Regions from separate parts of the Homo sapiens genome. Here regions 2 and 3 are each linked to region 1. Evidence: promoter capture Hi-C in human tissues and cell types (Jung and others, 2019). All regions are on one chromosome and are shown on one strand. Each heading gives the region's core, a stretch centred on a gene start or on the middle of the fragment in contact. The rest is flanking DNA. Distances are from core to core; before and after follow the strand shown. Region 1 holds the start of UNC5C (unc-5 netrin receptor C). Region 2 has its middle 180 kb from the start of PDHA2. Region 3 overlaps BMPR1B (bone morphogenetic protein receptor type 1B).

What was found. The method cuts DNA at HindIII sites, captures the fragments that hold promoters and counts their contacts. A contact is called where the count stands out against the background at its distance.
Region 2: a fragment that was not itself captured here is called in contact with the fragment with the promoter of UNC5C in region 1 in 1 of the 25 tissues and cell types used here (dorsolateral prefrontal cortex).
Region 3: a fragment that was not itself captured here is called in contact with the fragment with the promoter of UNC5C in region 1 in 2 of the 25 tissues and cell types used here (dorsolateral prefrontal cortex and hippocampus).

The regions. Positions count from the first base shown.
Region 1 is chr4:95,547,645-95,550,281 of GRCh38, reverse strand. It overlaps UNC5C (unc-5 netrin receptor C), which reads left to right and starts at 1,309. Exons shown (of 16, transcript NM_003728.4): 1 at 1,309-1,548. The coding sequence starts at 1,425. UNC5C-AS1 (UNC5C antisense RNA 1) reads right to left here and starts at 1,134. Exons shown (of 5, transcript NR_183914.1): 1 at 1,051-1,134. RefSeq lists an enhancer at 738-867. The HindIII fragment of the contact is 1,524 bases long and covers 682-2,205 here.
Region 2 is chr4:96,017,241-96,019,877 of GRCh38, reverse strand. No RefSeq gene overlaps it. Among named protein-coding and RNA genes, the nearest start is that of PDHA2, 180 kb to the right of the region's middle. The HindIII fragment of the contact is 3,002 bases long and covers 1-2,637 here.
Region 3 is chr4:95,155,569-95,158,205 of GRCh38, reverse strand. It overlaps BMPR1B (bone morphogenetic protein receptor type 1B), which reads right to left. Exons shown (of 13, transcript NM_001203.3): 13 at 1-2,637. Among named protein-coding and RNA genes, the nearest start is that of UNC5C, 390 kb to the left of the region's middle. The HindIII fragment of the contact is 5,361 bases long and covers 1-2,637 here.

The sequences.
Region 1 (2,637 bases), core at 60-2,559:
ACCCACCCAATCTTGCATCCCTCCATCATGACCACAGGGATTCACAACCCAGCTACGTAGACAATTATTTCCTGTAGAAAGGTAAACAAATTCATAGCAGCTCGAGTTCTTACACACACTATTAGAAATTTGAAAAACATGTTATAGGCTCCACCATCACTTTGAGTATCTACAAATTTTGCTTTGCATTTTTTTTTTCTAAGAGAGTTTCTCTCGGTATCGCATCACCACCCTTGTCAGCCACCAACATGCACGCAAAGAAAGCACTGTTGCAGAATGAGTTTCCGTCGAGCTTTTAGTTTCTGTTCCACTGCAAAGGGGTCATACGCGCTCAGAACATAAAGCAGTCTGACTGGCGCTGACAACCCCAGGACAGCAGCCGGCTGGGGCAGTGCAAAAGCTTCATGCCTTCTTCCCCAACCAAGAAGGACTTCAGTTCGAGCCCGCACCGGCTTCGTCAACCGCGAGACCCGAAGTCGTAGACCGAGTCCAGTCCTAGGGAATTCGGCTGAGGCTTTGCCGGCGCGGCGAAGAAGGTGGCAGGCGGCAGGCTGAGCTCCACTGGACACAGCCTAGTGGCCCGGGGCGCGCCCGCTGCACTCCCGGCGTCCAGGTCTGGCGCACCGCGGGAGGCAGGCGCGCTGCCACTCTCCGCAGCCGCTTCGTCCCCTGGTCTGTCTCGCCTCGGCTTCAGCGGGCAAACCCACAGCTGGTCTCCTGGGCGCTGATCTCCCTGCAATCCTTGCTTACATAAGGCGGGCGGGCGTGCTCCCGCCCCCGGTTACCCCCCAGAGGAGTTGTGCTGCGCCCTCTACGCCTCCTTGGCGAGCGCCTTCGCGCACCCGTGCGCCCTACTCTAGGATGTGAACCTCCTTGGCCACCCAGCAGCGACAGCCGGGACATCTCTCCGCCGGCGTGAGAACACTGAGATTGGAGACCAGAGCGCCTGACGGTGCCCAAGCTTCCTCCCTCCGTTCCCTCCTCCTCCAACTCCCCCCACTTCAACCCCCACCCCCACCCCCACCCCCGGTGTCTGTGTGTGTTCCTCACAGGCGAGGGGACCCGGAGAGCAGTCCAGACTTCGGCGTGCGGCGGAGCTGCGGCTGCTCCTGCTGCTGGGGGGAGCGGCGGAGGTGGCCGCCTTGCGCCTCCCTGGACTTCCCAAGTGGGGGCAGAGCAGTCGCTCGCGGGAGACGTCAGTTAGAAGGCATTGGGAAAGAGGGACCTTCAAACTCCTCCTCGGCGTCTCCTCTCCTCCCCCTTTTGGCCCCTGCCTTTGGAGAAAGTGGAGTGTGGCGCTTGGTTGTCGTTATTTCTTCGGACTGCTTCGCGGTGCACGGATTCAGCTTCTGCCCAGTGGGGCTTTCAGCTGTTTGCGCGTCTCTCTGTCCCCCTCCCCTCCCCCCGGCACACCTCTGTCTACGATGAGGAAAGGTCTGCGGGCGACAGCGGCCCGCTGCGGACTGGGACTGGGATACTTGCTGCAAATGCTCGTGCTACCTGCCCTGGCCCTGCTCAGCGCCAGCGGCACTGGCTCCGCCGCCCAAGGTAAGGGGGTCCGCCAAGCTCCGCGGCCACCTCCCTTAGCTTCTTCCTTCCCTCCTTCCTCTCCTCCTCCCCAGTTCTCTTGACTTCCTCAATTTGCCTCGTTGCTTTCAACTGGAAACCACTCTAAATTCCACTTTCCCAACTAGTCAAGAAGCTTTGATTATAATAATAATAATTATTATTATTATTATGTTTAATCTATCTTCTGAGATGGGCACGAATGGACCAGGGACGAACGGGGTGTGGACACGCAGCCGATCCGTCTCCATACGTGTGGGAGCCTGGAGTGTCTTGTGCCCTTTCAGCTCCGCACGCGCACGTTGTTGCATATTGCACACACGGAGGTTTGGAAAGACTCTCGGTGCGGGTGGCTGTGTGACATACCGTAGATGCACCCCGAAGCGCATGATGCGCAGAGGCTCCCCGCGCTGTGCCAAGACTGGGGTAGCAGGATCTTCACTGAGTCTCTGAGCACACTAGACCCCGAAGGGCGCTCAGCTAAGGAAATGTGTCCATTACTGTCAAGGACTCAAAAGCACCCGTCCCCCTCGCCTGCTGCTTCAGGTGCTGTGGAAATACACAGCTCACCCGAATCCGCGTACCCGGCTGGAGGCAGGCCCGGGATGTGCATGCCTCTGCACTCATACATACCCCGCTTCATGCCTGCTTCCCACCAGGGGATGTAGAAATGAAAATCCCGGAGCTCTGGGGGAACCGGCTGCTTGTTCAAACCAAATCCGAAACTCCCCGGGGTAGTCGACCAGTTTATAACTCTGACATTTTAATTTAACGCCTGTGAACTTTAACATAAGTGACCGGGGCCCTGGGCGAAGCCGGGTTGGGAAGAGTGTGGCCGGGAGTTGGGGATGGGTAAGGGAGGAGGGGAGGCTCCGGAGCTGATCGCCCGGCTCCCTTCTTGTCCGCCTAGTTTGAAGTGTTAGCAGCAGCTCCCAGCCTTCAAAGCCGGGAAAGCTGACTGGAAGGGAGCGCAGAAGAAAGAGCCAAGGCTGTCCCCTCCGGGGTCTCTTTCAGGTCACCTGGGCCCCAAAACTTCTGGCCAAGCCCAGCTCCTACTTGGGTCTCTTAGCC
Region 2 (2,637 bases), core at 72-2,571, 470 kb before region 1:
ATCTAGTATATTTTTCATCTCAGGCATTTTAATTTTCACATCTAAAATTCCAATTTGGACTTTTATATCCTCTTATGGTTCTACTTAGTATGTTCAATATTTCCACCACTTCTTCAAAGCATATGTAAGACTACTGCATAATTTCCTCACAACATGCATTATGACTTCTTCTCCAATCATGTTTCTTTTTGTTCATCTAGTAATACTTGGGATATACTTTTACTAAAATAATTATGTGTGGCTTTTTAATTAAAATCCAAATATAATTAAATATCTCATATTTCATCTGCCATTCCTAATAGCAAACCTCATCTCATGGCATTTATTAACTTCTTTACTGACTTTATTCATCTACTTAGCACTGATCATCAATAGATCTCCTATATACTTTACTTATTTATTTGCTAATCATCTGTCTTCTCCCACTAGAGGTTAAGCTCTGAGAAGGTATTTTTGTTTGTTTCACCATCTACTGAATTCCACTGTCTATAACCATGCCAACACATATTTGCTGGCTGAATAAATGGGGGAATAAACACACATTTAATTAATTGATTGATTGATTGATTAAATTTGTAGAAAAATTCTTCATGAACAATAAAATGGAGGATGAGAGGAGATTGGAGAAAGAAAAACAGAGGCCATTACATGTCACAGTGCCTTTTATCATTATCTTCTACTTTCCTGATTACATTTCAGAAACTATTATTTAGAAGGAGACAGTGATATATTTTGTGGTTTCCTGAGCACTGTGTTTTAATCTAAATGTCCTATCAGAAACAGTCACCTAATGAAATGAACCATTTGCTTCACATTTCGTTTACTTTTATTCTTCAGGGTATACTTTTGCTGACTGCTTTTGTGAACCACTTTTTTTGCCACATATCAGAAGAACTTTAAACCACTTGACTTCTTTGCCCTCTGATTCAGATTGAAGGGTGAAGGACAGTTTTGTACACAAAGGAATGGATGATGTTTTAATTTTCTTTCCCTTGTTCCTGAGAAAGTCAGCTCTGTAAATCCTGCTATCTAAGTAATGAGACTTTTCAGTTTAGATTACACTTAAGGATTCCACAAAAAGAATATTATATTACAGCTTCTTTGTCTAGTTTCTAAATGCTGGCACTGATATTACCAGGCAGTGTAAAGATATCAATCATCAGAAAGCTTATTGACTGTCCAAAATAGTTCTATCAATATCTAATTTGCTGTCTGATCTAATGCATAGTCAGTCGGTACAATGCCAACATACTACTCTGCCTTTCAGAATATGCTATCTTTCCTTTCAGACAATAAGAAAAGCTTTCACTTTATCCTTGGATCCTACACACATAGAAATCCTCATCATGTAACAAGAGGAAAAATGTTAAAGAAAAACAACTTCTCTTTTCTTGTTTCTCTATTATCTTGTTTATCTATTATCTAGTTTAGCTTTTAAAATAATAGTGTATCTTCACAAGCTTTACATTAATAGTTAGGCTTCTTTAAAACATCCTGTAAGATTATTATTGAATTCATTAATAGCAAACACCTGATTATCACTTATTAGGAAGTCTTGCCCATTTGCAACTACATATCTAACTCTCTTGGCCACTGTGACTTTTATCTTGAAATGGCTTCTCAGAAGGACTATTTGGGCAAAAGTTGAGAGTAGCATATATATATACTTCCCAGGGTTCACATCTGATTCCAAATCCTTCTCTCATATAGTCTTCTGTTCATCCATGTGTATAGTCATGTTCTTGGCCAGGAAACCCTGGCCAAAGTATAATCAGTGGAACCTCCATTTTAGTGGAAATAGTCTTATTTTATCCATAAATAATCCATGGTAACTAAAGTACAACTCATATGTTCATTGGTTCTAATTCACCAAATATTTATTGATCACTGATAAATGTTTCAAGCTCTATGCTAATGACTTTGGACAAAACATTAATCAACAAAGATCTGATCCTATCTACATAGGGTTTAGAGTGTAATGAAAGAAAACCCCAGAAGTTCAAAACCTAACAGTTAATCTGAACTTGCCACATCTGTTTTATGATATGCATCCTATTTTCTCCTACCGCTATGTATAATTTGGAAAGTGTTTAGTAATTTAAGACACCCCATTTTAGAGCATGTTACAATTTTTAAAACTATTAAATTCTGTTTTCTCAACCTACTTTTTCACTTTTCATTCTTTTCATTTCCCTAAAGTGAAAGAATAGTTACAAATACATACAAAGTTATGTCTTATCAGTCTTCCTGAAAAATATGGTGAATTGGCCTCTGAATTAAACAGAAACTGATGGTAAGGGGCTTTTTTTCCTCCACTGCTAAAGAGAAACTTTGCAAATTTTAAAATGTTCCTCAATTTCCAGTGCTTACCTCAGTGATAGCAAAGGAATTTGCTCCTCAGCTGGCACTAGTTCATTTCAGAAACTTTATCAGAAAGAATATATATAACATAGGCAGGCATCCAGGATATCAGCAGAGAGGATTAAGGTACAAAAATGTAAATGTCAATTTAAATACTGACTAAAATAGCAAACTTTATGCCAAAATCCCCAAAAAATATCTATGTCTAAGATCCTCAGGGGGTGTTGGAGGGCAGTTATGTTTAATAAAAGCCTGACCTTTCTACAGTAGGAAAGT
Region 3 (2,637 bases), core at 98-2,597, 390 kb after region 1:
TTTTACAAGAGGAATCACAATTGCTAAATTAAGTCACTTCTGATGCCATTTCTTTCATTTCCACTGCTATGTGTCTGGGTTTTCTAAGGCAATGTAACTACTGAACATGTTCAAGTTTAAAAAACTATACTTCTCTCAGTGCCGTTCCACCCACAAACAAAGAAGAATCAGATCAGACCAACAACATAAAACTTCTAATGAATATGTATGACTGTAGGAACATGAAATTCAGTCATTATTAAGTACTTGCTATACTTGACTACACACCAATTGAAATGTGTCAAAGAATTCCCTGTAAATAAAATCTCAGCATGTTTTCTAAGAAGCTTTCTGTTTGGGGAATTCAAAAATGGGCACTAATGACTTTTGAGCAGTGCTTTCCAGGAGGTCAAAGGCCTGTTTCCTCATACATAATGGTCATAGCACTCTTTTTGTGATTTAACAATCTACACACTTTTATAAATAAATATTATGTTTCATTTAGTACTTTATCATCCATAATATCTTACTCTCTAATCCACATAATGGAGTTGTGCCAGACTCCAAACTGAACATAATATTTATATATACATATATATTTATATATATACACACATACATAAACTATAAACCTGAATATCTTAGCATACAAAACTTATCTAACAACTAATAATTTAGGATTCCTTTGAGAGGGAGGGGTTAGAAGAAACTCTTCTTAGTCTTTGAAATAGTCCTGACAGTAAGCAATAAACAACATTATTAATTTCTGGGTTCTCATTTATTCAAGTGAAAGACAAATAAAATAAAATTCACTTCTGAGCCACTAGAAATTTTGAAATCATAAAGGATTATTGGGAAATGAGTAGTCTTTAAGAACAATTTAGTGTTATCTAAGTAAAGTGGATTTTGGTAAGATACAGAGAAAAATCTATGCATAAATAAATTCTTGTTTCATTGAGCAACTATAATCGCTAAGTGGGTCTTTTTAAGTATCTCAGGAATGTTTTTAAAATATTAATAGTGAATAAATTAGATTGAGGATAGGACCAATCTTTTCCAAAGCAACCAAATATAATAAGGAAGAAGTTTGAAGACTATTTTAATTTCTTCCCATCCTTCATTGGAACCAACACCTCCCTAGAAATCTAGCTTAATTTCAAATCATCACCTCCTCACAAAATATTCTGATTTGACGTTATCCACGTTCAAGTATTTACCAAAAAGAAAACATAATTTTATCTACAAGGTAAGCCCAACCTCACTTAAATTTAGGAAAAACCCAAGAAACAAAAACATGACCCACTTAACTGGCATAAATGTTTACCTGTTGTTTTGTAGATGATCTGTTTAGAGGCACTGAAGTTTCTCTTCAAGGCTCAGATGATTAGTCACACTTAGTTCTAACCATATATTCCTTCTAGGCTATCCCTAAGAATATAACTGACACAAGAGAAAGGAACCTTTACATTATTATTGAGGTTATTTTTAATATCAATTGAAGCAGCGTTCTGATTACAGTTCTACTTGTTTTCTAACTGTTTTCACTCTTTAAAAACACAATTTTTTTTTTTTCAATTTCAAGGATTACGAAATTCTTCTGTCTTAGTTACAAACAAAATGCAGCTATGAAGCACTGGGAAGTAAATGCAAAATATAGAAAGAATCTTCATGATTCTCCCAAACTGTAAGCACAGCTCACAAAGTCTCATTGCTTTAGAATGTTTTCTGGATGAACAAGTTACCAGCTGCAAACCGACTTCAGAAGTGAGGAAAATGTTTTCTCATGTTTCATGTAGCTGTCAAATTTTCAAAAATCCTCCATCCTTCAATCACCCAGTGGGGAAAATGTGTTATAAAACACTGCCCCCTGGAGTATTCTGGGAGGAATGTCTTAAAAAAAAAAAAAAACAGCAAGGAGAAAGTACTTTCAAATTCTTTACTAACCACTAACAGAATTTCTAAGAAGCAAAAGAAAACCACAGAAAGGAAATGTATATGAATAAAGTTGAGCAGGATGTGTACAACTTTAAACTGTATTGTATTCATGTTGCTAAACAATATTGGCCTTCTCGATGATTTTATTCATGTTGCTCCAAAGTTAAAACCCTGTAGAACTAAGTAGGTGAAGAGATATTTTGTATAAGTGCCACAGAAGAGAAAATATAATAAATTAAATAGTGAATTGAGCATCACTAGAATAAAATAAAATGAGTAGGCATTCCTAAGATGTGAAATGATCACCTAAGATATACATGCTCCAACCATATTGATTTTAGAACAAAACACAGCAGCCCATAACAGTTTGTGGCCTCTACTAACTGTCCTCTGCTGTCCCATCTAGAGGTTATGTTTCTCTATTTTTAAAATAAAATGTAGTTAAATTAGCCTGACGGATGTTTCCTCTCTATCCCTTATCTCAGACACATACAAAACAGACAGACAATAACAAAAAGACATCATCTTTATCTGTACAAAATAAGGTATGCACACTTTTTTCTTTGTGCTTCTGAGATTGGCTCCTTTGCATATATAAGATACAAGCCATCTGCACGATCACCCTCATTTCCTATCTTTGTTGACATGTTCCTCTTACAACACAAGAGCAAATTACCTCTATTTGAAAGCACCCTGTCTTCAACACAGCTCATGACAATTTTA